6 separate regions of the Homo sapiens genome follow, and all the other regions are linked to region 3. The links are contacts of gene promoters, found by promoter capture Hi-C in blood cells and fetal thymus (Javierre and others, 2016). All regions are on one chromosome and are shown on one strand. The core of a region is centred on a gene start or on the middle of the fragment in contact, and the rest is flanking DNA. Distances in the headings are between cores, read along the strand shown.

Region 1 (4,916 bases), core at 1,123-3,622, 420 kb before region 3:
AGATGCCTGAGTGGGTACAGGGAAAACAGGCTGTTGCAGTAGTCAGGGGAAATACGATGGACTAAAGTGATAGCAGCAGAGATGGAGTAAGGTGAATGGATTTAAGAAATCCATCTGAAGGAACTCAGAAGAGCTTAATGATTGGTGGGCTGTGAGAGGTAGAGGAATCCATGAGTCAAGGTTTCAGATTTGAGCAACTGGGTGGGTGGCCATGTCATTTGCTGAGATAAGAAACCCTGGAAGAGGAAACATAATGAGTTCAGTCTGGGACACATTGAGTGTGAAACATCTGTGAGTCAACCAGGCGCAGGTCTTGAGTAAAATGGGACTAGAACTCAAAAGAAAGACCTGAACTCAAGTTACAAATTGAGAGTTGTCAGCATATAGATAAAAATGGAAGTCATTAGAGGTGGATGAAAGCACCTACTATGGAAGGTGCTGGAGCTAAACTTGTATACCTGTAGACCTATTCACTGTCAAGTGGTTCACAGTCCAACAAGTGCAGCCACATATGAACAAGGCCAGAATTTTAGTTCAACTGCTATGAAAACTACACTGAAAAGCCCTATTATTGATCACTATAGGTATACCCCTTCTCTGTTCTACCCTCTGGAGGTATATTTCCCAATTCAACTCAAAACTAGAAATGCATCTAAAAGTAAACTAGCCACCATTTTGTTTTAATCAAGTAGGCTTCAACAGAGAGTACCTCTTGAGCCACTAAGAGCTTTCAGTGAACTCTTTTCCTTTTTATTTATTTATTTTTTTTTGAGACGGAGTCTCACTCTGTCACCCGGGCTGGAGTGCAGCGGCGCGATCTTGACTCACTGCCACCTCTGTCTCCTGGGTTCAAGCGATTCTCCTGCCTTAGCCTGCCGAGTAGCTGAGATTACAGGCACGCGCCACTAGGCCTAGCTAACTTTTGCATTTTTCGTAGAGACAGGGTCTCACCGTGTTGGCCAGGCTGATCTCAAACTCCTGGCCTCAGATGATCCGCTTGCCTCGGCCTCCCAAAGTGCTGGGATTACAGGTGTGAGCCACTGCGCCCGGCCCAGTTAACTCTTAACAATAAAATTTACAAGTTGAAATATATTTACATTGATATCATGCTTTTCTAAATCATTGAACAAGAAAATAAAGGGAGTAGATTGCAGATTTTGTGTGTGGTCACTCTCGTAGTGATGTGAACTTTACAGTTTACAAGGCTGTGATTATGAAGCCCAAGGTCTGCTAGACTTGTGCCATATGCAAGTCTGTTCACAGTCGAAGGCGGTTCTCGGGACAAAGTCTATTTTTAAAATGCATTTTGTAGCTTAAAAGAGCACTGCATGCAACAGCTAAGGTTTCTGTTTGAAAGTTCACTTGATATCATAAATAATTACCAATTAACCTAATGAAGATTGACATTTTTGAGATTTGACTCAATTATCCCTTTTCCTTCCTCCATTCCTTTCTCTTTTTCTCCCACTTCTTCCCCTAATTCTTCCCTTCCTCTCTTCATTCCTTTCATCCTCCCTCCTTCTCCTTTTTTTTCTATTTTTCTCTTTTTTCCACAGTTTCTGCTTCTAAGCTTTTTATGGAATGACACAGAGCACATATATAAAATCGACACACCTAATACAGCAATGTTAAGCAACCTCTTCTATGTAAAGCACTTTGACAGAACTACAGCATCAGTATTAAAAACTGAAGAGTCCTTGTGGATCATCTTACCCAATTCACCCATTTTACAAATCAAAAAAGGAAAACTTCTATCCCACTGTTATGCTTGAGAATCATCTTAAGGCTTATTTGGCCATCATGCTAGATTTCACATAATAATGACAGACACTCTTTTGTATTATTTTATTAAGTTAGCAGGCCTAGACCTGTACTGACCGATACAGTTAGCCACTGACACATGTGGCAACTGAACCCCTGAAATCTAGCAAATTTGAATTGAAATGTGCTGTAAGTGTAAAATACACAACAGATTTTGAAAATAGCATAAAAAAGTAAAATATCTTAATAATTTTTATATTGATTTTATGGTGAAATGGTAATGTTTTGATACATTAAGTAAAATATATTCCTGAAATTCATTTTACCTGTCTCTGTTTACCTTTTTAATATGGCTACTAGAAAATTATATATGATGTTCACATTTTGACTCATTTCTATTCTGTTCCAGAATAATAGTGCCTATCTCATACAAATTTTTGTTGGTTAGCTAACATTTCAGGCCTTTATCTTAAGTTCCTAAACTCATCCAACATTGATAAGTAAAGAAATTCATTCGCCTTACCAAAAAAAAAAAAATGGGTGGGGGAGCGGGGGGCTCACATGACCTAAAAGATATTGAGAATACATTGGTCATAGATCAATAATCCAAAGAATGTAATGTTTTGTCCAACGTCACATAGATCAGTACAGAGATGGTTCTAGGGCTCAGGACTTCTATTTTCTCACTGACCTTTTATCTCGAAGCGTTCAGTGAACAAAATTGTGGAATGGTCTTCAGTGGCTACAAAACTGATTTCAGTTGAATTAGACAAATATTGGAAAGCCTAATAGGTGCCAGGCATTTTGCTAGGCAGCAGTAATTGAAGGGCTTAAGTTTTATCACTTTAATGTGTGGGGAACTTTCCTTGAGTTCTAAATGAAAAAATAAAACTACTTTTGCCACACTTTTCTCATATTCATAATTCAATTATGACCATGTCCAGATGGGCAAATTTCTTAATTTTAAAGCTCTAAACTGAATATTTCATCAATGTAAAAAAGCTGTTAAAATTTTCATAACATGTGGCCGGGTGTGGCAGCTCATGTCTGTAATCCCAGCACTTTGGGAGGCCAAGGTGAGCGGATCACTTGAGGTCAAGCGTTCAAGACCAGCCTGGCCAACATGATGAAACCTCGTCTCTACTAAAAATACAAAAATTAGCCAGGTGTGATGGTGTGTGCCTGTAATCCTAGCTACTTGGGAGGCTGAGGCACAAGAATCACTTGAACCAAGGGGACAGAAGTTGCAGTGAGCCGAGATCATGCCAGTGCACTCCAGCCAAAAAAAAAAAAATCATAAAAATGTGATTATATGTTAATTAAAAATTAATTTTAACTTAAAAAATACATTAAAGCCATTATCAATTTTTTTTTTCCCAAAATGGTCTTATTTCTTCTGGTTATATTTTAGTTAAAGCTTAAAACTTAAGTGTACTATCTGAAATATACTATTTACTCTTTCCTTAAAAGACCAGATTTTGACATCTATTTATATCACTTCTGGTTATGAGGTTTAGAAATGTTCTGTTACCAAATAGCAAATTTTAGTTTTTAACTATAGGCAACTCTTTTAAATATTCTTGGCAAATTTAAAGGAATTAGACTTTATTCAGAGTAATTCTTCATTGCAAGAATAGTAAAGGAGTTACTTAAATTACTTGCCTTAAACCTTTGGACACTGTGGCTTAGTTCTTCTTCTATCATCATCTTGGCCTTAATCACTTATTGTTTAGATCATCAACAAGGAAATGCATCATTGCTAACTATAGAATTAATTCTACTTTGTTTTGGGTCTTCTAGTATGGTGATGGATTCAGTATATCGATATTTTAGTTAATTATTTGCATCTATACTCATGAGTTTTGGGGGCTATTTCTATCAAGTTTTGGTATGTAAACCATGCTGGCTTCAAAAATTGGAGGTTTTCCATAATTTTTCATAATTATCTATGAATTAGACCAGTTCAAATATGTGAAATTGTCAGTTCTTTGTAGGTTAGAAAAATGTCAGCAGTCGAAAAATCACTCAGGTTTACGCCTTTTAAAATAGTATTTCTCCAACAATCTTTTCAATTTCTTCTATATTCATTAGTCTTTCACTGTTTACTTCCTTTTCTTGAGTTACTTGTGTTAATTCATATTTAGCCATAAACAGTTTTATCTGGAGTTTCAAATTTATTGCCACTGAATTACAAATAATCTTCTCTTTAAAAGGTTTTCTTTTTAATTCTTCCATGCCTGTGTTTATATTCCCTTTCTCATTCCTGAATTTATATATTTTACTTTTTTTTTCCTTTTTAGTTAATCAGGCTTACTAATCTTTTCTAAGAACCTAGGCTTGGTCAGGCATGGTAGCTCATGCCTGTAATCCCAGCATTTTGGGAGGCCAAGGTAGGCAGATTGCTTGAGCCCAGGAGTTTGAGACCAGCCTAGGTAACATGGTGAAATCCCATCTCTACAAAAAATAACAAAAAATTAGCCAGGCACAGTGGCACATGCAGGTAGTCCCAGCTACTCTGGAGGCTGATGTGGGAGAATCACCTGAGCCCAGGGAGGTGGAGGCTGCAGTGAGCTGTGATGGTGTCACTGCACTCCTGGGTGACAGAGTGAGACTCTGTCTCAAAAACAAACAAACAAACAAAAAAAACTTTAAAAATCTGTTTTGCAATTTCAAAATTTATCATCATTAAATCTCTGTTCCTACTTGTTTTTGTTTTGTTGCTCTCTTTTTCAGTCTCTTCATTTGAATTTTTAAATCACATGTTTTCATATGTACCTGTTTTGAAAATAAGCAAATGTTTTAAACACTCAGGTGGGAGGGGGAAAAGAGGAAAAAAAACCATTTTTTCCTTTGTACTTTTCTTTGTCATTTGACTTCTTGCCAAAATATAATCTTATCTTGCCTCTGTAGTTTGACAGAAAAACAAAACAATCAGCATATTTTTAAATTTGTGATTTATTATCTTAGGTCCCACAGAAATTGTGGTGGGTAGGGAAGAAAAAATCTTCATCTCTCACAATCATTCAATAATCAACCCACTATAAAATTTGTCTCCACTCGAACATTTCCATCCCTTCTTGTTCCCATGAACACTGGCATCTATGCCCAATCATGGACGGTTAATTTCTGGCTAAACTGTGGGATATTGGAAACAT
Region 2 (4,548 bases), core at 623-3,122, 340 kb before region 3:
CCTTATGCTCTCTCTGTTCAAGTGTTCTTCCATCGCTTACTATGCTCTACTTTATCCTTTAAGAATAGCATCAGAGGCCAGGCGTGGTGGCTCACACCTATAATCCCAGTATTTTGGGAGGCTGAGGCAGATCACCTGAGGTCAGGAGTTCGAGACTGCCTGGCCAACATGGTGAAACCCTATCTCTACTAAAATACAAAAATCAGCTGGGTGTGGTGGTGCACGCCTGTAATCCCAGCTACTTGGGAGGCTGAGGCAGGAGAATTGCCTGAACCCGAGAGGCGGAGGTTGCAGTGGGCTGAGATTGTACCACTGCACTCTAGCCTGGGCAACAGAGCGAGACTCCATCTCAAAAAAAAAAAGGAAAAAAGAATAGCATTAGAGAGGGTCAGCTTTTATGTATATTTTAAACATATAATTTTTACTCATTTATAGTCATTCTTTATCTCTTTTTTTGTTTGTGTTTTATCTAACTAATTAAAATTTAAAGATAGGGACTAGGTCTTCTCTTTCTGTTTTCCTTTTCTCAATCCCAGATGCTGTAACAAAGTACAAATTGTAGCAACAATTTGAATAAATAAATAATAAATGAGTTCATGAAAGAAAACTATAGCACCGGGTGTGGTAGCTCACGCCTGTAATCCCAGCACTTTGGGAGGCCAAGGCGGGTGGATCACAAGGTCAGGAGATCAAGACCATCCTGGCCAACATGGTGAAAACCTGTCTCTACTAAAAATACAAAAAAATTATCTGGGTGTGGTGGCGCGTGCCTGTAATCCCAGTTACTTGAGAGGCTGAGCAGGATAATCGCTTGAAGCTGGGAGGCAGAGGTTGCAGTGAGCCGAGATCATGCCACTGCACTCCAGCCTGGCAACAGAGAGAGACACTGTCTAAAAAAAAAAAAAAGAAAAGAAAACTATAGTATGAAATAAATTATTGAAATAAAAGTATTTTTTCCTACACCATAATCTACATTATGTCCTCACTCCAAGGAAGATAACTTAATTTTGAAATAAATTTTAATTATTTTTTCCTTTTAGGTAAGCCTCCCTATATAACTTCAGTGCTTTAGCAAATAGTCCTCTTGGATGTTAGCTGGGTTGTTAAGGTATAGGAGATCACAAAGGCATATTATTAATTCCAGTGTCTTCTTTACCATGTGAGCTACTCTAAGATTTCATGTATTAAAATGGCCCCAAAGTAGATTCACATACAGTTTCTTGAAAAGATGGATTTGTTAACATCTCCTTGGTCTGAGTCTCTATGTCCAGAGCAAGGCTACCCTTGCTAAGTTTGGTTTGTTTTAGGCCTTTCCTTCACCCATTTAGCTGCTTGTATGCACATTCTTATATACATATATTCATGTATGCATGCTTTCATTCCTACAATGCTTCTGATTTCATATGGTACCCTACTTTCCTGTTCTGTGTTAATAACAAAAGTTTATATGACACCACCACAGAAACTCAAATATGTAACAAAAGCATACAAAATGCTTTTTCAGTTTCAAACTGAGAAAAACTTAAAAGATCACCTCATTTTTTTTCTTGGAATGATTATTCACATATTTCTGCAGAAATTGATTTTCTCCAGACCCTTTGTGATGTTATACAATATGTAGTATTATGTACTCCTTACATTCTAAAATCTGAAAACTTTGGAATTATGACCCCAAAAGTTGTAAAGTCTGCCTTCACCATTAGTCCTCCTTTAGCCAACTCTTAAAAGTTGGAGTTCCTTAAGCTTCCATTCTTGTCATACTGCTGCTTTCATCCAGCATACTCTTCTTTACCTCTTATTCACTCCAAAGGAACTCTACTAGGTTTACAATCTATTCTTCCCAGTTCTTTATCCACATCCCTGACGTCTTCCCTGAGCTTTAGAGCTACTTTGGATTACTGAATAGCTTAGTAAAGACACTTCCATTCCTTTCAGAATTTGGGTCCAAATGAGAAATAGACAGGAATCAAATAAAGATCAAAACTTCAGCATTATTGTTGGAAAGCTTGCTTTGAGAAAACAACAAAAAGTGCCAAAAAGAACGTAAACCATGCATTTGCAATGACTCATTCTTCAAATTAAAAAATTATGTAACTCACTATTCTTCTCATGGGGAAGAATGAGTAAGGGGTAAATTTTTATTCTTAACATTTCTGAGTTGGCCATGGGTAGAGGAATTTCTACTTTTTGTACTGATTCAGGAATAGTGGGTAAGGGAAAGAATGGTTTCCCCCACACTCTCTTAATTTTATTAATCTTTCAGGGTTAACATTCCAAGTGTTACTTGAGTGATCTAACTAAAATGTAAAGTTGATCATATCTTCTTCTTTAAATTATTCAGTGACTCTCTATCACCTAGGATATGATCCATGTTTCCAGCATGGCCTATAGCCCTTTTTACTTCCCTACTTCAAGAGGAAATGACCTTCCTGTCACTCCCTTTTTCTCTGATATTACTCTCAAGTAATATTGAACTTATTGCTTTGTTCTTTACTCTGGCCTTTCCTTTTGTTCGACAAGGTCAAGGACCTTGTTTTGTTGGTTCACCTTTATTTCCCTAGTGCCTGGGACAGTGTCTAGCACATAGCTATTCAATAAATATGCATTAAATAAATGATTAGATGATTAAATGAATAACATACTCATAACAATAAAAATAGTTAATATTTTTGACATAAATTGATATAAAGTGGGTATAGAAGTTGGTATGAACAATAAGGCCTTAATAGAGAGATAATTAACCTTGATAGTATATGAAAAAACAAATGCTGGATTATAGAGCATCTAAAGGATATAGTTAGCTACATGAATGCACAAACACTTTTCTATTTAGTTTTGCTTTTGGAAATATATTGATATTCTACATAATAAAAAAATTAAATCTACAAGGCTGGGGGAAATGAAAACTGAAATAAATTGTATAACTAGATTTAAAAAGAAAAGAAAAAATGAATACAAATAATTTTAAACACAGTGCATTATATACCATCTTTCTAAGGGTAAACACAAAACAAACTACACACAGATTTTGAGTTCTTTTTAGTGAGCTTGTATGTCATAATGATATGGGTAGAACAATTCTGAACCCATATGATAAGTACCATAGGACTAAAGAAATGAATAAATGTGTTGATATTATTGGGTTCTTACTGTGCAAAGAAATGTGCAGAATGTAGGAAAACAATAAACCCTGTGGGGTTGGATTGGAACTGGAAATGTATGTGTGTATGTATGAGTGTGTGTGTATACACATACATATATATGTATACATATTTTATATATATGGATTTATACACACACACACACACACACACACACACACACACACATATATATGATCCAGAAGCAATGATATTCCAGTAGCAATGAGCATACCGAGCACCCAAATCTTGGTTTCTAAATATCATCCCTCATTAAAAGGAACCAGAGCTTCTTGGAGAAATAGTTGATTCTGGGGCAGGGGCAGAGAAGGTATATGGTGAGTCAGGAACATCATCATATGGTGACAGAAAGTAATAAAATCCTTTTTTTTACTATCTATATCTATAGGCATATCTATAGGACACAAGGACAACCTGAAGGGGCTCCCACTGGCCAAATCTTAGACAATTTTGGGTACCAACATAAGTAAGAAAATACACCGGGCACAGTGGCTCATGCCTATAATCCCAGCACTTTGCGGGGCCAAGACGGGCAAATAGCTTGAGCTCATGAGTTCAACACCAGCCTGGGCAACATGGCAAAACCTCATCTCTACTAAAAATGCAAAAATTAGCTGGGCATGGTGGCACATGCCTGTATTCCCAGCTACTTGGGAGGCTGAGGTGGGAGGATCGCTTGAGCCTGGGAGGCAGAGGTTGCAGTGAGCTGAGTTCATGTCATTGCATTCCAGCCTGGGTGACAGAGCGAGACCTTGTCTCAAAAAAGAAAAGAAAAGAAAAGAAAAGTAAAGGGTTGAATAAAATAGGAGCCTGTGCCCTCATCCTGATAACAACTGGATAAACAAGGAAACAAATAAATAGAGAATAAGGTAGGGCTCTTCCTTATAGCAGAATGTCAATTGACAAATGTGAAGGGGTGGTAGATTTGGAAAATTAGTATTTTGCAAACAGCATAGTAAAGATTGGTTCAGGCAAAAATTATAAATGGTTGCTAAATCTTGGGGGCAAATTTTGATATTTACATGGTCTTAAAGTGTTTTGCTCCTTATTAGTTGCAAGAGGGAAAATAGCAACTATACAGTAGAGAAACTGGGTGATCAAAATTAACATCACCAATGAGGAATAGATGGACATTATATAACTCCACAGAGGATATCCCCAGAACCTAATGTCACTTTTTTTTTGAAATGAGGTTGCTATGTTGCCCGGGCTGATCTTGAACCCCTGGGCTCAAGCAGTCCTCCCACCTTAGCCTACTGCATAGCTGGGATTACAGGCATGCACCACTGCACCCAAGCCATAATGTCACTTTAAAAATATTCTGGATGGAGGTGCATATCTTGAGTCATGAGGACACATCAAACAAACCCAAACTGAGGAAAATTCT
Region 3 (5,036 bases), core at 313-2,812:
AAATGGAAATTCTTTGCTGCATTGTAACCTGATTACTTAATAAGGGAAATAATATTTTAAAACTGTTTGGAGTCTTGTTTAAAGTATATAAAGCATTGTATTAAAGCAAGATAACAGGTAACACAAAATTTTTCTTGCCATGCCTTCTCTGTCAAGGTGCCTGTTTCTCTTTCCTGGAGAAAGTATTCTTTTGAGCTGACTGCAAAAGGAATTGTATGAAATATGTTATCTGTCAGAAGCAGTGTAGATACTACAGGTAAAAGCCCTCCCTCTCAGGAAGAATAAAATATTTTAGAAGGTTATTAAGCACTGTGCCTGCTTGGAAGTACACAAACTGGGTACTCTCAATAATAGTACTATGGTCAAGGTACAAGGAGGACTTTGTGAGCCATAACCTACCCAATTAAAATGTTTATTTCTTAGGCATTTTCTAATATTTAGTTCATGATGATTATTATGCTATGTTTACTTCATTATTGTTCTTACTAACACATTAAGATATTTAATTTTTGCATATTCTTCAGTGTAATAGCTCTCAAAATTAAATTTTTAACTGTGAAGAACAAAAAAATTACTGAGAGAGTTTCAAATAACAGAAATCACTTGAGGTTTTCAGCAGTGCTCAAGTAAGCTTAAACATCCAGCAAGTTTCTTTTTTTTTTTCTGTTATTAGTGAAAAAAACTTATTTTACACAACTAAATACAATTCTAAAATCTAATGTAAGTTTTAAACACTGCTTGTAGTATCTCCCAGTCCTTGCCTTGGTGGTATTATTGTGAAAGCATAAGCATGCTATCTATATTTGCCTTATTAAATTAATGCTATGCAAGTACTTTATTTTTTAGTTTTTTGTCTCTATAAGAAAACAAATAATGCAGCAGATTTTTGTCTCATTAATATATTCTCATGCAATCTTGAAAAAGAGAAACTCTTTTCCTTTCTACTTACATACAGGCCAACAGCTTGTTTAAAAGAGCCTGAAAATAGATCTGTTTCTCATAAACACTAGAACAACAGTCAGCAGAACTGTTGATATACACTAATAGGACTACTTACACTCTGTAGGCATGGTAATGATTGTTTCCGTTGTAGCGTGATAATCGTCATCTTCCAAAGAGCCATCGCTGCTGTCATCCCTCTGGACATCATACTGATCAATCAGTTCCCGGAGTGGAGGAGCTTTGGGTAAAAGTTGTCTTATAACATCTTTGCTGATGTTAGGAGCTGTTTCCAGACGAAGTTTACTGAGGATTTGTATCTTAATGGCTTCTATTCTTGAAGATTTAGTGTTTTGTCTCCAAGTACATGCATTACACAGCCCCTCTTTTTCCACATTTTCTTTTTGCTCACTGTTCTCATTTAGATCCACTGGACCAGCAACAATCAGCATAAACAGGTAAATATAAACACAGAGTTGCAGTTTTTGCATGATTTTAAAATCAATATAATCTTTTTTCTTGTTCTTGTTTCTTCCTTTTACTTTTCTTTTGCTTTTGAGTAATGCCAAGCAAAATTTTAATGCATGTACAGTCTGAGAGACAACTTGCCACACCAGTGAATCTTTTATACTGTATTCCAAGTGGCTTTTTATATTCCAACTTAGATGAGACAAGTGTCGTCAGGATCTATGATTGGCTCTTGCTCCACAATGAATCTCGCTGTCAGAGGTTAAAACCCTGTCTGTCCCAAGTCACCAAGCAGTATTTTGTTACAGTCAAGGGTGAGCTGATTCATTTGACTACTTCATAAAAGAAATAAATCTACAAATAATAAAAGATATTTGTGACATTTGAAAAACAAAAGTCTATGTTGGCAATAATATAAACTGTACTTAAATCTTACTAATCCTCACACAACTCTTATTGTAATTTAAATAAGTCAATTTTAATTTATACTACATATTTAAAATATGAAATATTACTTCCTCAAAAACTAAAATGATTTTATATTGTTTAGGCAAGTATTTGAAGTAGAAAATATTTTTATTTGTTGTATTAAATTATTTTTAGTGCCAAGTAATTAGGAAAATAAAAATTAGGAAGACCTGAATTAAAAGTTAAGATTATGATACTAGTTGAGAATTTTCATCTATAATTTGAGAAACTTGTTTTCTGACTAAATTCTTAGTAAATATTGGAAGTCATTGTTATTATAACATATTGTGCATGGAATTATTTTTACATAGTTTCATGTCTTTTATTAATATGAAAATTATACTGAACTTTTGACTGAGTGCTATTATTTCCTATTCTAAAGATGCAGATTAACATAACTCAGAAGATGTGTTTTTCATTGTTTATTACCAAGAGGGTAATGCCAGCTAGTAGAAAAATCTCTGAACATAGACTAAGATAATGAATTTTATAACTGGCATGGCAGAGATTATTACAGTTTGCCTCAGATTTCCAGCAGTAAATATCCAGAGAGTAAAAAGTGCAGTATCTATTCTCTATAAATTATATCAGAATATTATGAGCACATAAAAGAGAAAGAGCATCATGATAAAGGGGTGACCTTTTGTTGTTTCCCAATACTGCGATATGTTTGCACCCCTTTGCCAATTTCTCATTTTGACCAGAGGGCAGACACCTGGCAGGGATTTGGGGTAAAGTCTGGGAGCAGAGAATAGAGCTTTTTGTTCTCTAAATTTAAGTGGCCTCTGTAGGGATCAAACGTTCAACCTTAGCTTTGGGAGCCACAAGATCTAGTCAAATGAACTATTAAAGAGCTAAGCAAACATAGCCAGCAAGAAACAGAAGATATTTCTAGGCCAAAGGAGATTTCTTTTTCCTACTCCTTTTTGGGAAGCTAAGGATTCCTAAGAGATTTAGTCCATTACTTTTTTTTTCCAAGAGAATACAGTGGCTCATATCAAATATTTATTTTTAAAGTCACTACCATTTTTGCACACTGTACACTAATTTACTGCCTCGGTGCACTAAAATGCAACTCAGTAGCCTGAAAAGTTAATGCATTTTCATCAAATTCTTAAGAGGTATCTACATCTCTTGAGAAAAAAATGGCCTTACATAATGCATTGGATTTGCTCATCATTAAAGATTAAGGAAAACCAGACACAAACCAGATGCCCTGAGGATTTCAGATACTCTTTGTTATGGGACAATATTAGATCTGGCTTCTAAGGTTTTATTTGTTTGGTAAATTCATTTTTCAATGTGTAAATCTTTCAAATGTTATGATCATTGTAACACATGCATCTATACAGTTCCAAGTAAGTCAAACTTTTTTTTTAATATGCTTAGAATTGTATAGCAGTTGAATTGAGAACTCAGGCTCTGGAGTCAGATAGACCTGAGTTCAAATCTCAACTTTGCCACTTCTAACTATGTGATAATGGATGAGATACTTAACTTCCCTAAACTTTAGCTTCCTCATAGGGTTTTGGGGGGATATAATTTAATAATGCATGTAAATTGCTGAATATGGCACCTGTCATATAGTAAGTAATTGATAACTGGCATTTGAGTGCTTGCTCTTTGTTTTATGCAGAAGGGTTTGAGATTATGCTTAAAATTATGCTCCACATGAACTAGAACTGCTTCAGGTCATAGCTGCCAATTATCAGTCACAAAGCCTACTTTCTAGGCCTGTGAGGCAAGTAAAATTTTCTAAGGCAGCCAGGTTACAAGACATGTTCCAGCTCTTTATTCTTATCACCTGGAAAAAAGTGAACAAAGGTTGTCATTTCCGCTAACAGACAATTCTTATTATTCATGATTTCTGTATTCACAAATTTGCCTACTTGCTAAAATTTATCTATGAAACTCAATATTCCTAGCATTTTTCAGTCATTCGCTGGCATTCACAGAGCGGCAAAAAATTTGAGTCCTATCTGACGCACAGGTTCCCAGATGAGGTCAAACAAGGCAGGGTTCCGCCTTTTTGTTTCAGCTCTCATACTATAAACAAATTCCCTTTTTCCCGTCTATTTAGTGCCATGTTTTCACATATTTTGTGCTTCTTTTTTTATTGCTCCTCTTATTGATTTTGCTTTTTAAAAATGGCCCCCAAGCATAGTGCTGACGTGCTGCGTGGTGTTCCTATGTTCCTAATCACAGGAAAGCTGCAATGGAAAGTAGCATGGTGGTTGCCAGGGACTGGGTGAGGCACTGAGGGGTAGTTACTGTGTGATAGATACAGAGTTTCAGTCTGGGAAGATGAAAAATTTCTGAAGATGAATGGTGGTGATGGTTACACAACAGTGTGAATGTGCTTAATGCCACCGAACTGTACACCTAAAAATGGTTAAGATGCTAAATGTTGTGTATATTTACCACAATTTTAAAAGGCTGTGATATGCCTAAGGGAAAAAAGTTCTCATGAAAAAATGCATGTGCTAGATAAGCATCATTCAGGCCTGAGTTATAGTGCTGCTGGCTGTGAGTTCAGTGTTAATGAATGAACAATATATATTAAATAATGTATTTGTAAACAAAAACATACATAAAACAAGGTTATATATTGATTGGGTGATGTAAATGTTATGACCAGAGGCTCAACTAACCCTGTTTTTCCCCTGGGAACAATAGTTCAATATTTGCTAACTCAGTGTTGGCAATGACTTTATAGAACATAACTACTATGAATAGGGAGAATTGACTATATCTAATCAACTTCTCTAGAGAACAGTATTGAATGGGTGAAGAAGAACTGAAGAAATTTAAGTAAGTTTTATTCCTTCTCCAGTGGCAGTGATTGCAACCTTCCTGAGGCCCCAGAATAGAAGGGCTCACCAGCTATAGGAAACTTCAATGTAGTCTGACTGCTGGAGACCCAGTTCTGGCAGTTCTTATCACCAAGGAGACAGGACAGTACTGCATCATTAGGGTGAGTGGGTAGAGAAGAATTCCTCCTAGTTAACTGGGAGAGCTGCGTCTATCAGCTTGTTGGTTTTGTCTTAAGTTAGCCATCTCTAAAAGCAGCTTCTCACAGGAGTCAGAATTTAGGTAGTTAAGGCAGTATCTCACAAGACTGGTATGGTTCGTCTTTGTACTAGGTAGACTGTTGTGGGCCT
Region 4 (4,811 bases), core at 1,950-4,449, 320 kb before region 3:
ATCACTGCTATGACCAGACAGGGACAAATACTCTAACTCTCCCCACCACCACATGCTGCTTCTATTGAATCCTCTAAACACTCCCTTTAAGAAGTATCAAAAGAATTAAAAAAAAAACATAAAAAATGACAAACGTGTAATTAGAGAAGCTGAGTAGAAAATGTTCAAAGACTCTCTGCTTCTTTTCTGTTTTCAGATTGTTGTACTGGCTAAAGTCATTAGAGATATGGACCATATTACTTTGTCTGCAAGAGGTGTTACTATTTTAGTTGATAGTCTGTATTCAGTTCAGACTTCTACTATTGTCTTGACAGGTAAGAAATGACTAGAAGTTAATTTTAGCCACATAAAACTATTTTCAAAAACAGTTTATTGTAATCTGAATAATAATAAAATAATACGCCTGATACACTGCCACAAGTTTAAAGAACGAACTTATGTTTATATCTACATGGAACTCCACAGCAAGTCTACACGAAACAATGGGTGTCTACTCTGTACCCCAAACAGAAGCTGAGTAACTCTGAATACAGACTTTTTGCTTTCCTAATTACTTTTTCAAACCCTTAACTTTTTTTTCCAAGATATAAATGAGAATTCACCTATGACCTACAAACAGCAAAATAAAAAAACTGATTTATAATAGTGGTGGCAGATTTACACAGATGTACCTCTGTCTGGTTTCCTTTTGTCCAGTTGTGCACATTTTGCTAACACTGAAAAGTTCTTTACATCGCTGTGCAACAAAGCAAAGCAAGATGGTCCCATAGCGTTCTCAACACATTTATTGCTATTGTATAACTGTGTCTACTGCAGACCTAACCCAACAGCTCACACATAATAGGTGATCAGTAATATTTAATTGACTTGTTATGCCACTCTTAAAGTAACATAAGGCAGGGTCAGAATGAGTAATATGCAGTGACTACTACCAATATAAACAAATAAGTATTTGTTTTTTAATTAAAATGTATCACTAAAGGAAACTTTACTTGATGCCATAGAATTACATGTTTATGAAGTATATGTGCATGGCAAGGAAGGAAAAATGAAGCAATGAAAACTTTCTGATGGAAACTAGCTAGAAAAAAAGTTTAAAGAAGTTATTAAATATGTTTTAATCTAAATAACATTATTAATTCAATGTTATAGTAATTCTGTGACTCTGAAAAACAACTGTAGTGGGTTTAGACTCCACAGTTTTTTTTTTTTTTGAGATGGAGTCTCACTCTATTGCCAGGCTGGAGTGCAGTGGTGCGATCTTAGCTCACTGTAACCTCCGCCTCCCAGGTTCAAGCGATTCTCCTGCCTCAGCCTCCCGAGTAGCTGGGACTACAAGCATGCACCACCAAGGCCAGCTAGTTTTTGTATTTTTAGTAGAGATGGGGTTTCACCATGTTGGCCAGGATGGTCTCGATCTCTTGACCTCATGATCCGCCCGCCTCGGCCTCTCAAAGTGCTGGGATTACAGGTATGAGCCACCACACCTGGCCTCCACAAACTCTTATAGGAAAGAAATGCCATATTACATTGGCTTTCAAATATTAAATTAATTCCTCCAGGATGAGGAGAAATGAATCTCAGAAATTACTGGACTTTCTCTGCACTCCACAACCAGTCATATGCATGTCCAGGGTATCTCAGGCAAAGCTTGATATTCAGGCCTCAGGTATAGTGTAAAATAACTGATGTGCTTGGTGTCAAGTTGACATGGTTTCCAGAAGATGCTCCAAAGGCACAGAAGTTTTTAGGAAACTGATTTCTGTTACCAAGAATTCAGTTTTCCTATTTATACCACTTAGCTATTCTCTACTCGGAGTTCCTCCTTCTACTCCTTTGAGAACTATAAACTTTAGTTCTCTTTCTTAGCTGCTCCCTTGGTCTGTTTCCATTTCTAACTTCCCATCTTTAAAGGGTCTTTTTAACTTTAAATAGAGCTTACCTTTAGACAATTTTTGCTTTAGATGATACAACCAATTTTCCCCATTCGGAGGCAATAAACACAAGGAATTTCTTGGCTTATAATAGAGGCCAGACAAAAATATAAGGAGAACAAAAACTCACGTCATATCTCAATAAAGTATCCACATACTCCACACAGAAATATGAAAATACATTTTTATCTTCAAACAAATATAAATGAAATAATATTCAGTTGCTAGCTGCACATTTAATTATTGGGACACTTTATTATTTTAAATCTGAAAACATTTACTTTTATGTAAAAACTTCAGTGATTTTTAAACCTCAATAAGCAATACATTGATTGATTTTAAAGTATTAATAAGGCTTAACTCAAAGCCATTTCAACCGCAAAAAGGACATATTAATTTTTTTTTTTTGAGACGGAGTTTCGCTCTTGTTGCCCAGGCTGTAGTGCAATGGCACGATCTCTGCTCACTGCAACCTCTGCCTCCCAGGTACAAGCGATTCTCCTGCCTCAGCCTCCCGAGTAGCTGGGATTACAGGCATGTACCACCACGCCCGGCTAATTTTTGTATTTTTAGTAGAGATGGGGTTTCTCCATGTTGGTCAGGCTGGTCACGAACTCCCGAAGTCAGGTGATCTGCCCACCTCGGTCTCCCAAAGGGCTGGAATTACAGGTGTGGGCCACCACGCCCGGCCTAAATTTTCTTATGATAATTAAATCATTATGTTCATAGTTATTTTTAAAACCCTAAAAACTTCAAAACAAAATATATTCTGAAGATATGGGAGAAAGAAAACCTCTAATTTTCAAATTTTTCACCCTTACATAAACCTATTTAATTTACACTATTTGTGACAGAAAACCAAACTGTAATTTTGGGGAGTTTATTCTATATTTACATATGCATGCTTTTTCTCAGTGCTGCTTCATTGACAGAGATGTCTTGTGACACAAACTTTTTTCAGTGCTATGTGCAATTAATGAAAGTATTATAAGTTTATATCAATTAAATAACACAAGCATTTTTCTTGTTTAATTTATAGGGAATTTAATAGCAAGCCTGGCTCATTCTAGAGCTGGTATCCCAGAAGCATTTACCACATTAGGAACAATCCAACGGCTCTGCTATCATTTGTACTCGGGAATAGAAGAGGTAAAAACAAGCAAAAACTAATTCTAAAATTAAATATGCTAAAAATATAATTTACCTCTCCCTCTGTGGACTAATTTTTCCACTGATTGACTGTGTTATAGATATAATATAATTCTTATTACTAACTCAAAATTACATGACTGTGTTATATATATAATATAGTTCTTGTTACTAACTCAAAATTACATGACTTTTCTAATACTAATTAGTCATACATATCTGCCATCCACAATTTTAATTCCTATAAAAATATACATTTGTTTTAACCCTAAGACTTAAAATTAGGATTTTAATCACAAAAGCAGTATAAAACGACTACAATTAAAGATTTAAAAAGAACTACCTGTTCAAATTAGTTTCTGATTTAAAAAACAAAAACAAAACCCTACAAAATAAGTCATCTTAATCCTGGAATTAAGAGTCAATCTATAAGTACGTTGATGACAAAGAAACTTATAATTGTTTACTAAGTATCTAATGAAAACCGGTGACTCTGATCTAAGTTATTTCTATGATTTGAAATGAATGAAAATGGAATTCATAGGATAGCTTTCCTTATGTGTCAAGCAGGGTTAGATGTAAGGGTGTGTGAAAGAGGCCGTGCTGGTCACAGCAGTGGCTTGCCTCTGAGTGTTCCCCTACTCTCTTCCACTAAGGTCTAAAGCAGTGTTACTCCACCTTTAGGGTATATCAGAATCACCTGGAGGGCCTGTTATATTGCTTGGCCCCATTCCTAGAGTTTCTGAGCCAATACATTTGAGGTGGGCCCTAGAATTTGCATTTCGAACAAGTTCCCAGCAGCTGAACTACAGGTCCAGGGTTCAAGGTTTAGAAGACATATGAGCATACAGAGCAACCGGATGCCAACATAAAGACCAATATGTTCATTCTATGAAACTTTTTATGCTACTATCATATTCCCTACAACTGGCCAGGAACATACTTTAATTAATCATATGACCAATCTATGGGTCATAGACAGAGGGTATTTTCTTCAAAGAACTATTTTTTCTAGAGTCCTGTGGCCTGACACTTGTGCTTCTTTCTGTTTTTGCCAGTGGAAAAGTGAGTTGCTCTTGTAACGTCTGAATGTTAAAAAAAAATTTTTTTAAAGTAATAAATAAATAAATAAGTTGCTTTCTCTAAGATTTCTGTTACCAAGAGTTCAGCTTTCCTATGTGTACCACTTAGCTATTCTCCAAAGTGTCTGTTCCTACTCCTTTGAGAATGATAAACAAAATAATTAAATAAGAGTTTCTAGGGATGGAACCCAGGCATAATTGTCAAAGTTATATGGGTGATGCTAATGCATTGTCAGGGTTGCATCCACTACCTTAGTTCAAACTCAAGTTCTTTCTTTGGTGGCACATTAGAATTACCTGACACACACACACACACACATTAGAATTACCTGACACACACACACACACACACACACACACTAGAATTACCTGACACACACACACACACACACACACACACACACACACACACACACACACACACACACACACACACACACACACACACCCCTGAAAGGATTCTGATTTAGTTGGTGGGCTTTTTTTTTTTTAAACACTCCAGGTGGTTCTAAAATGCAGTTAAGACTGAGAACAACCACTAGAAATCAATGGCAGTTGACAGCTCTCTGTAAAAATATGGCAGTTAAGCTTCCGTCTATACACTGCCATTTGTTTGCATACATATTTGCTTACACTTGCTCCCTCC
Region 5 (5,040 bases), core at 2,270-4,769, 400 kb before region 3:
ACCTGAGAGTCAGTGCATCTTCAAATTTGCACCCTACCACACTCACCACATCCTGTTTCAGCCCTGCACAAGAGCTCCAAAGTGAAGTTGGCTGCAAGCGTCAGGGAGGCCTGATGTCCGCATTCCACAGCTTTGAAGCAAAGCTTGAGAACCAGCCTTATCTCAAGTAAAAAGGATTTACTAATCTCTAGACCAGTACTTGGAAACTCTGCCATTTCCCTTGAGAGACCAAGACCAGCCTGATGTGCTTTGTTACTAGGGCGACAAAGCATTCTCCCTGCGTTCTCCCTGCAAAGAGTTTATGGTAAGGATCCAGTAGTTCCTTTCCCAGATCCTAGAGCCTTGTGGAAAACATCAGTCCAATATCTCAGGCCCTGTCACCTTCTGGCAGAATTATTGATATAAATCACCTATTTAGACTGTGATATTACCTCTCCTTTGACTTCACCCCCTTGGTCCTACAGCCTACCTTACTTCCCCCTCTCCAACCCCCTCCCCCCACCGGCAATTACCAGCACTGTCTACTTGCTGAGATTTCCCTTTGGTCTGCTAGTCTACGCCTCTTAGAAGAGTCTGTAGTTGAGTCTGTCTCCTTTCAAATGACTTCCAGTCTGTCCTACCCATCAGAGTTAACAGAACCATCCAATCACTGTGACAACCAACAGTACCTCCAAACATTTTTTCAAGCATCAGCTAGGGAAACCCCTAGCTCTGTTGAGAATCACTGGAAGAGAAGACATAGTTTCCAGTTGTATGGTGGGCTGCAGATGGGCAGTCCTGAGCCAGTTAGGCATGACACATGGTACTAGCTAACCCCAAAGCTGACTTCAAGCAATGCAGAAGTTAGAGCAGCTGAAGGAGGAAATAGAAGCAAATAGATAAATATTTTTTAAATAAGACAAAGTGTGAAAGCACTTTTAAGACAGTTTAGCACCATACTAAAATTATTATCACCACTTTGTTTAGTACTATTTTGTTTAGTACTATGTTGTCTTGGGCAGCCCTTGTGAATAAACAAAAACATCAGAACCTGGCAGAGCCGTAAGCAACAGCCCACTTCCCAAAACGGGGTGAACAGCTGTAGACCAATCAGCGGTGTTGGGTGTTTCCGGCTACTCGATGTGGACATGATTGTGAGTCAGAACCAATTCAAACTTTAACCAGAGCTCCCACTCTGCCAGACACTATAATAGAAGGTGGGGTACAAAGAAGACCAATAGGCTAGGATGCTCAGTCTCATCAGCTTTACAGATAAGCCTCACTATTACCTCTAAACAAAGTGGAAGCCAGTCCTGGCAGCGCACACCTATAACCCCAGCATTTTGGAAGGCTGAGGCGGGCAGATAGCTGGAAGCCAGGACTTTGAGACCAGCCTGGCCAACATACTGAAACCCCATCTCTACTAAAAATACAAAAATCAGCCGGGCATGGTGGCACACACTTGTAATCCCAGGTACTTGGGAAGCTGAGGCAGGAGAATAGCTTGAATCCAGAAGGCAGAGGTTGCAGTGAGCAGAGATCGCACCACTGCACTCCAGCCAGGGCAACAGAGAAAGACTGTGTCTCAAAATAACAACAACAACAAAGTGAAGTGATACTTCACTTTGGAGCTCTCTTTTTCCTAAACTTGGATTCTTAAAATGTTTCTAAGCTAGCAGTTTTGTAAGAACTTTTTTCCTTAAAAATCTGGCACATTTAAAGTATTGGAAATTCTGGGCTTTTAAAAATATTGGGATTATACCAGTGCTTATTTTTCTCTATAAACTAGTCAGAACAGAGGCCCTTTAATTAGAGATACTATAGTGGGATTTATTAATACACTCCAGAAGTAGGGAAATATTTCATATTTACAAAGGGAGACATAAAGCCTGTTCTAAGTTACAGACACACAGACACATAAAGAGGTTATTGCTTCTGTCTTACAACTTCAATCTCAGGTCAAAAGTAAACACAAAACCACAAAAATTCACCAGTTCTTCTGCTTGAGCGGCCTTTATGTTAAAACAAACAAACAAAACCTTACTAGCCCACATCTCAAATAGCTGTCCTCCTTCCCTCTCAGTGGACACAAAAGTAATTAATTAATTTGAGCTCACAAACAATAAACAAAAAGACTTACAAACTCGCTTCTCTGTCACCTCTCTTATTTATTTATTTGAACCCCTGGCCTCAAGTAATCCTCCCACCTCAGCCCCGAGTGGTTGCGATTACAGGTTTGAGCCACTGCACCTATCTACCTCTCTACCAATGAGACTAGACGTCCATCATCCAACAGATACCACCAAATGGTTAGACCACAAAACCAAACTCCCAATCATTGCTGCTATCAATGTATCAGTAATGTATAAGTTATACCTGAATAACTTATCAGGAATGTACAAATCAGAAATGAAAACACAATCTTTAAAAATCAATTATAAAGGAAAAATATATAACCACTTGGGTTTTCTGTAAGAGCAAATAAAAAACATGCCTGGCCTTAAACAACCCATGATGTATACATTTCTTTCGCCAGATAGTTTGATTCATCACATAAATCCAGTTGGGCATCTCTGTGGAAACTTAAGATTTCCAATAATATAGTATAATTATCAAAAACCTAAAATCATGTCTCTAATGTGAACATAAAATATATACATGTCAAACTTTTATTCAACTCATTGGTTAGTGAGGGAACCGATGACTTTAAAACCAATACAGAATATTAGAGAAGCTAGGCATATGTTAATAAAGAAATGTTAGGACAGAATGCAGGGTTAGATACAAAACTGACTAATGTGTTGCAGAACAATAAATCATAACCTGTGTTGGTATCTGGTACAACAAAAAATTATTTGCATCTCTACCAAACCAAAATCTCTACCAAAGTTAACCTTTGCCCCTACAGAATTGTAAAACAGCCCAGTCAATATAATAAAGTCAAGTCCAGAGCAGCACTGAAAGAGCATCCAGTAAATAAATCTCTTTTGCCTATTTCCAAGTTTTAGTCATTTTTTCCACAGAAATGAGATATTGCAAATATTGCACGGGACATAGATGCACTAAAAAACTATTAATTCATCTGAAGTTCATACTGTATTTTATCCGGCAACCCTAACCACGAGTTAACCAAAACTTTACCAAGTCTGTACAGTTCTTTTGCCAACACGGTATCTCTTAAATCTGTTCCTTAGCTTCATCTTTCCCTAGATAATAAATATCATATTAAGCGCTGTTTCTATTGCACGACTATTCTTCATATTTACCACTGGAGGGCGCACAGAACTCGTAGTATACTAGATAAGAGGTCATGAAGAAACCACCTGAGCGTTTCTGCATCTCAACCACAAGAGGCCAGTACAGGAACCTCAGATTTTGCAACCAGACTGTTTACTCGCTCCCTAAGCAGCCATGCGCAGGCGCGAAACTCCTCCCCAGGCCAGACCCGGCCTGCGCATGCGTTCAAGTGAGCGCGCAGACGCTATTGGTAAGACTCGCGGGAAAAGAAAGGGTGAGCGCGGCTGGAAGCGCGCATGCGCTGTGGCTAATGCCGTAGGCTCCTTCAGGGCTGAGCCATCCCGCGTGTCTTGCGCTCGGTGGAAATGCCCAGCCGAGGGACGCGACCAGAGGACAGCTCTGTGCTGATCCCCACCGACAATTCGACCCCACACAAGGAGGATCTAAGCAGCAAGGTGAGTGTGAGACGCGACGAAAAGGCTCCTGGACTCGGGACCGGGCGCCACTGGACCCTGAAGGTGGTCCGCAGCGGGCAGCGTGGGGCCTGCCTGGGCCTCGGCTTTGCCCTGCTACTTTGCTCTTTTTATTCATAGCACTTGACAGCCACAGTTAGTCCTTTTATTTTCTGAAAACAGTTGCGAAAAGGGAGATCTTGAAATTTGTCCCGAGACTGGACCCAGGTGACAGTGGGGCGGAGTTTTGGTTGGGTGTTTTCCTCCCTAGTCTTTTTAAACTTTTGGAAATACCGCCCACCCCAAATCTGTTCCATCAAAGATATTCTCCATCCAGTTAACCATGCCAGCAACCCGGGGTCCATCCTTGACCCCCATCATGGAAGCCTATCAGTTCTACCTTTGAAGCTCATTTCAAATATGTCCCTTTATCACCGTGAACACTCTTACCACCCCAAATAAGCCACCGTCATCTGCTATCGGGACCCCTGCCCCCGGCAAGGCCTTCCTAAGCGGTCTCTCCTCATCCACCTGTTAGCTGCTGCTTCTCCGTTAACCAGAGCAATGGTCCTAAAACACGCATTGGGTTGTCACTCATACCAAACTGGGGGAGAGAGGAAGCCAATATAATATAAGCCTTAACTGCCATAAACAAACAACCTTTAAAGATAAATGGGGGTGGCGAGGGTTATAGCCCTTCAGGTATTACATGTCCTAGATTCTACTTTGGTTCTGTCCCAAACTTACAATGACATCTTGGGCAAGTCTCTTTAATCTTTCTGTATCAGTTACCTTCTTTGAAGTAAAGTGAAATGTACACCTGTCATTCCTAAAATGGGAAAGCCCTGTATAAATGTTAAGTCTCAAAGAATGTTTACAAATTTGGCCTTGGAATTCAACCTCATTACTACAGCTCTGCCAACGGGGGAGACAGAAAGGTGCACATTCATGGGGATTGGGGGTGAATTTTCAAAAGACACACAGCCCATTCTGATTACCACCATAGCAAGCCACTTACGCATACTGGTGGTTACAGATCCCTGAGGTGTGTGTGAGGTAGCACAAATATGATAAAAGCTGCTTTTAGAGGCTCTTGTGATACTATGTAATCAGTCATGTTCACAAAATAAATAGAGTTAAAAAGAAACTTAGTTTTCACTTAGTTGAGCCCTCCCCTACAAATAAATGAAGCCCAGGCCAGCATGGTGGCCCAGGCCTGTAGTCCCAGCTACTCGGAGGCTAAGGTGTGAGAATCGCCTGAGCCCGGGAAGATCAAAGCTGCAGTGAGCCGTGATCGCACCACTGCACTCCAGCCTGGGTAACAGAGCAAGACCCTGTTTCAAAAAAAAAAAAAAAAAAAAAGCCCAGTTCA
Region 6 (4,983 bases), core at 2,147-4,646, 300 kb before region 3:
TACATTATTTGGCAAAATACATAACTGTATCTGCAAACTATTTCAGCCTTTATGTACAGATATGAACCTCTTACCATTTTATTAAGAAAGGCTAAGAATTATAAAATTGTGTACTACTCTTTCTATTTTTTCTCACCATATGTGAATTTTTTTCAGTTTACTAAGATAAAATTCAGAAATATTTAGGTGAATGGTGGTAGCACATCTATTGCTACTTAGTTGAAATGGACAACATAACAAAAAAGAATGGAGAAATTAATTCTTAATTACCTTGTCAAGCATGTCACCTGGTGCTATGTCCAAAGACTTTCCAAGAAGCAGAAAATCTGAAACTCCTTGAACTAATGCCAACAGACAGTGACCTCCAGAAATCAAAAGAACTAAAAAAGGAAATTCTACTTTATTGGTCAACCTAATAGTAAGTGCATGAGCCTCCATATGATGAATGGGAATGAATGGCTTTTTTAACTGTCCTACCAGCTGTAAGCTAAATGATAAGCCCACTCCCAGGCTTAAAGCAAGTCCTGGTTTTATGGTAGTTGCAATTGCTGAGAGGTCACTTGGAGAGACTCCACTGGCAGAAAGAGCTTCTTGTACTATTCGTTGAATATTTTCTCTGTGAAGCTGTTGAGCTGCTGGAGGAACAATCCCACCTGTTCTGAAAGAAAGAAAGACAGCATTTTGTAGTTTTAAGATTGTAAAAATGAAGAAAAATGATATTACAGCTAAAAGCATGTCTTCAAGTTAATCATTATATAGCTGAGTAAGTCAAGTATTTTCTAATTGTGTGCCTTCTAACATAGCACACTATGGTTAAAACTCAGTAAGCAGTAATTAAGGGGATAATGTTTCTGACTTTTTCAGTTTATGCACAACAGACTCCCATGGATTTGTTTGTTGACAAATGAAATCACCAAAATAATCTTGTAAAGCATTCCATACAAGTTTTGAGCATGGGAAGGACAGGAAAAAATTGTATTTAAGGAAAATTAATTTCCTTGCTGACAGAAGATTTTAAGAGAGATTACTGCGAAAGTATTTGTGTAAAATGATTATATCTTAAACTGGGCGATTGTGGGAATGGAAAGAAAGGGACAGAGAACCTTAAGAACTATAATAACTAACTGAATATAAAGGGACAGGGGGACTAAGGCATCAAAGTTTGTTCAGCTATTCAGCTGGAATGACCGGGAGAAAAGAAATTCTAAAAGAGAAACATGAAGACAGTTTTATAAAGACGACGAGTTTATTTTAAAACACATTCCACTTGAGGTCACAGCAGGATAGCAGATAGCTTGCAATCCTGAAATACAGTTTGGGAATCTGGTGCTCAGAGTTTGTAATTTGGATTTTTGGTCCATGTAGGATGGTGGATGGCCACTCCAAATATCAAGTGTAAAGAACTAAGAGACAAATTTGCTAGCAACAAATTTGCTACCATGTGATTGATTTACAATATGAGAACTGGAGCAATAAAATAGAGTCTGCAAAACGCACTGCTAGTTTCAAAAAAAAATCATCTTCCAATATTTGATGTTGCAAGATCTACTAGTTCTATGTGTAGAAATGAAAATCCTCAGTAAGTGCATTCAATGAATATTTGCTGAGTAATTAAAATATTGTTTCAGGCAATGAGGGGGATATAAATGAAATGATCTGATTTCAACACATCCACATTGTAATATAATTTTCCTTAATTCTTCAAAGCTACTTTTTCTCTTATATTCCTCATCTTTGTTAGTGGCATCAAATAACCCTTGGGTTTCAAAGTTCATCTTTACTTCCTTTCTCTCCCTCACTCTCCGCATTTAAGTTTATCACCACTCCCACTGCCAAGTCTCAAAAGCCCTCATCTCAGTCTGTTCAACAGTCTTCTAATTGTACTTTCCTAACTCTGTCCTTTGATCCTTAGAGCCCATCCTATATTGCTGCCAGAGAATACTCTAAAGCACATGCTACCAGTTATTCCCCTACTCAAAACCTTTAGTTTCATGGAATTTGGGAGACATCAAATCCAAATTCTCTCCCTGCAACTCATTTCTTCCTTCTCTGTCTTGCCTCCCTCCTTTCCTTTCTATGCCTTTTCTGTGTATTTTATCTTCCAGGGATTATGCTAAACACTAGGGCCAAATAAGAACATGGCTTTATTCTCAAAGAATTAATAATAACAATGTATTTTTGTCTATGATTTGTAGACAGTATGGAGTGTGGATTATGGAACAAAGCTAACAAAGAGGCAGGGAAACCACTGAGGCTTGAAGCTATAGCCAAGAGTCTGTGCAAAAGACAATAAGGGATTGAACTCAGTCAGTGAGAAGGGAGAGGAAAGTTGCAAAAAATATTTGGGAGATGGATTTACTATGAATGGATGACTGATTTGGATGTGGAATGGTGAGGGAGAAGTCAAGGGTGTCCTTCAGGTTTCTGGCTTGGAAGAAGGGACTCCTCCTGCCAAGTAATCCTCTATTATTGCATTTTCCATGCTGTTTCACAATGATCTGCTTACTGTCTTCTTCATTTTTACTGATGGTAGTAGTAGAACTACTATTGTTACTAAGAGCTAGCTTGTATTCAGCCCTTGCTATTCAAGAAGAATGCCCTAAAAGCTTTAAAGGAATTCACACTTAATATTCACAACATTAATTTGAGTTAGTGGTCATTATTATCATTTTACAGATAAGGAAACTGAGGCACAAAAAACTGTGCACAGTATCAAATGTAGTAAATGGTTGAACCAGAATATAAGCCTAGTAAATGGCTGAACCAGAATATAAGCCTACACTCTAACCCACTTATATGGTGAGCTGTTCAAAGGCAAGAGTCATATGTCTCATTTATATTTGTATCCCAAATGCCCTAAGTATTGCCTGGCAGCTATAGGTATTCAAAAAATGCTGAGATGAGCCAGGTGGATGGTATCACTGAAGCCTGTTTGCCCAGTAGTCTCCTCAAGTGACCTATGCTCTAGCTAAACTGAATGTCTAGTACTTTCTCACTTCTTTGTCTTTGCTGACAATGCTCACTTAGTGATATGGTTTGGATCTGTGTCCCTGCCCAAATCTCATGTAGAATGGTAATTCCCAATGTTGAAGATGGGGCCTGGTGGGAGATGACTACATCATGGGGGCGTATTTTCCCCTTGGTACTGTGTCGCGATAGTCAATGAGTTCTCATGAGATCTTGTTGTTTAAAAGTGTGGGCCGGGAGTGGTGGTTCACGCCTGTAATCCCATCACTTTGGGAGGCCGAGGTGGGTGGATCACTTGAGGTCGGGAGTTCGAGACAGCCTGACCAACATGGAGAAACCCCATCTCTACTAAAAATACAAAATTAGCTGGGCATGGTGGCGCATGCCTATAATCCCAGCTATTCTGAAGGCTGAGGGGGGAGAATCGCTTGAACCCGGGAGGCGGAGGTTGTGATGAGCCAAGATTGCACCATTGCACTCTGGTCTGGGCAACAAGAGCAAAACTCCATCTCAAAAGAAAAAAAAAAGTGTGTAGCACCTCACCCCCCCTCTCTCGGTCCTGCTCCTGCCATGTAAGACGCCTACTCCCAATTTGCCTTCCGCCATGAGTAAAAGCTCCCTGGGCCTCCCCAGAAGCAGATGCTGCCACGCTTCCTACACAGCCTGTGGAAACACGAACCAATTAAACCTCTTTTCTTTATAAATTACCCAGTCTCAGGTATTTCGTTATAGCAGTGCAAGAATGAACTAACACAGGTTATAATATTCTTTCCATCTCCATTCACTGAAGGCCTAACGAAAGGCCACTGAACACCTGTGATGTGTCAAACATTGTGTTAGGCACTAGGCATAGCATAGTGATTAATATAGACATGGCCCCTGTCACCTTGGCACTTAGACTCTACTGAGAGAGATTATACATACACAAGCAAATGTATAAATTGTGAAAGTATTACAAAGAAAATATGCAGGGTATGATGATACAGAATAAATAGGATGGGAGTACCTAATTTAGATAAAGTGGTCAGGGTAGTCCTTTCTGTGCCATTAACTTTTACATGTTCAAAAGTTCAGTGCACTCAGGAAAAACTGAAAGGACTGTGAAGCTGAGGCACGGTAATAATAGTTACTGTCTGCACCACTTGTTTTTCCTTATGCTATGCTGCCTTGCACTATTAATTCTCCTTGTAGGTCTAGACATCATGTCTCCATAATCAAGTTAAGCTTCCTTAAACCAAGGACTTTGCAGTACTTCACAGTGCCTTACTAATATCCAACACAGTCCCTTTCACATAGTTATTGTTTGAGGCTCAATCTGCCTCTTTACATACATTATTTCTAATGCCACCCTCCCGTAATTCTATGAGGCAGATGTTAATTTTCCTTTTTTTTTTTTTGAGACAGACTCTCACTCTGTCGCCCGGGCTGGAGTCCAATGGCGCGATCTCTGCTCACTGCAAGCTCCGCCTCCCGGGTTCACGCCATTCTCCTGCCTCAGCCTCCCAAGTAGCTGCGACTACAGGCGTCCGCCACCACGCCTGGCTAATTTTTTTTGTATTTTTAGTAGAGATGGGGTTTCACCATGTTAGCCAGGATGGTCTCAATCTCCTGACCTCATGGTCCACTTGCCTCGGCCTCCCAAAGTGATGCGATTACAGGCGTGAGCCACAGCGCCCAGCCAATTTTCCTATTTTACTGATGTGAAAACAGAATCAGAGAGGATATGGAACTTGCCTACAGTTACAGAGCCAATACCAAGTGCTTAATTCAGGATTCAAATACAGGACTGTGATTCCAAAATACCAGGCTTTTTCACTATTCAGATGTTGTAAATTGATAGCTTAAAGGTATACTCATCTGTAGAGTATTTTATTCTTATTTATTTATTTATTTATTTTTTTAGTATTTATTGATCATTCTTGGGTGTTTCTCGGAGAGGGGGATTTGGCAGGGCCATAGGACAATAGTGGAGAGAAGGTCAGCAGATAAACATGTGAACAAAGGTCTCTGGTTTTC

What was found. The method cuts DNA at HindIII sites, captures the fragments that hold promoters and counts their contacts. A CHiCAGO score of 5 or more calls a contact.
Region 1: a fragment that was not itself captured here is called in contact with the fragment with the promoter of MSTN in region 3 in 2 of 17 cell types (total B cells and naive B cells); the score reaches 6.0 in total B cells.
Region 2: a fragment that was not itself captured here is called in contact with the fragment with the promoter of MSTN in region 3 in 1 of 17 cell types (M2 macrophages); the score reaches 6.4 in M2 macrophages.
Region 4: a contact is called between a fragment that was not itself captured here and the fragment with the promoter of MSTN in region 3, in 2 of 17 cell types (M2 macrophages and M0 macrophages). The highest score is 7.5, in M2 macrophages.
Region 5: a contact is called between the fragment with the promoter of ASNSD1 here and the fragment with the promoter of MSTN in region 3, in 16 of 17 cell types (naive B cells, total B cells, M2 macrophages and 13 more). The highest score is 28.7, in naive B cells.
Region 6: a fragment that was not itself captured here is called in contact with the fragment with the promoter of MSTN in region 3 in 7 of 17 cell types (M2 macrophages, naive B cells, M1 macrophages and 4 more); the score reaches 9.7 in M2 macrophages.

Annotation. Positions count from the first base shown.
Region 1 is chr2:189,641,562-189,646,477 of GRCh38, forward strand. No RefSeq gene overlaps it. Among named protein-coding and RNA genes, the nearest start is that of ASDURF, 17 kb to the right of the region's middle. The HindIII fragment of the contact is 1,608 bases long and covers 1,569-3,176 here.
Region 2 is chr2:189,721,988-189,726,535 of GRCh38, forward strand. The region is part of intron 12 of ANKAR (ankyrin and armadillo repeat containing); the gene reads left to right. Among named protein-coding and RNA genes, the nearest start is that of OSGEPL1-AS1, 39 kb to the right of the region's middle. The HindIII fragment of the contact is 262 bases long and covers 1,742-2,003 here.
Region 3 is chr2:190,061,167-190,066,202 of GRCh38, forward strand. MSTN (myostatin) reads right to left here and starts at 1,563. Exons shown (of 3, transcript NM_005259.3): 1 at 1,058-1,563. The coding sequence starts at 1,430. It also overlaps a transcript of AKAP19 not described here. The HindIII fragment of the contact is 9,340 bases long and covers 630-5,036 here.
Region 4 is chr2:189,738,369-189,743,179 of GRCh38, forward strand. ANKAR (ankyrin and armadillo repeat containing) reads left to right here. Exons shown (of 23, transcript NM_001378068.1): 19 at 197-314; 20 at 2,974-3,083. Among named protein-coding and RNA genes, the nearest start is that of OSGEPL1-AS1, 22 kb to the right of the region's middle. The HindIII fragment of the contact is 3,103 bases long and covers 1,649-4,751 here.
Region 5 is chr2:189,657,940-189,662,979 of GRCh38, forward strand. ASNSD1 (asparagine synthetase domain containing 1) reads left to right here and starts at 3,520. Exons shown (of 6, transcript NM_019048.4): 1 at 3,520-3,671. ASDURF (ASNSD1 upstream open reading frame) reads left to right here and starts at 3,520. Exons shown (of 4, transcript NM_001353493.2): 1 at 3,520-3,671. The coding sequence starts at 3,582. RefSeq lists an enhancer at 3,578-3,767. The HindIII fragment of the contact is 6,437 bases long and covers 142-5,040 here.
Region 6 is chr2:189,754,903-189,759,885 of GRCh38, forward strand. OSGEPL1 (O-sialoglycoprotein endopeptidase like 1) reads right to left here. Exons shown (of 9, transcript NM_022353.3): 3 at 271-658. It also overlaps a transcript of ANKAR not described here. Among named protein-coding and RNA genes, the nearest start is that of OSGEPL1-AS1, 5.4 kb to the right of the region's middle. The HindIII fragment of the contact is 1,585 bases long and covers 2,605-4,189 here.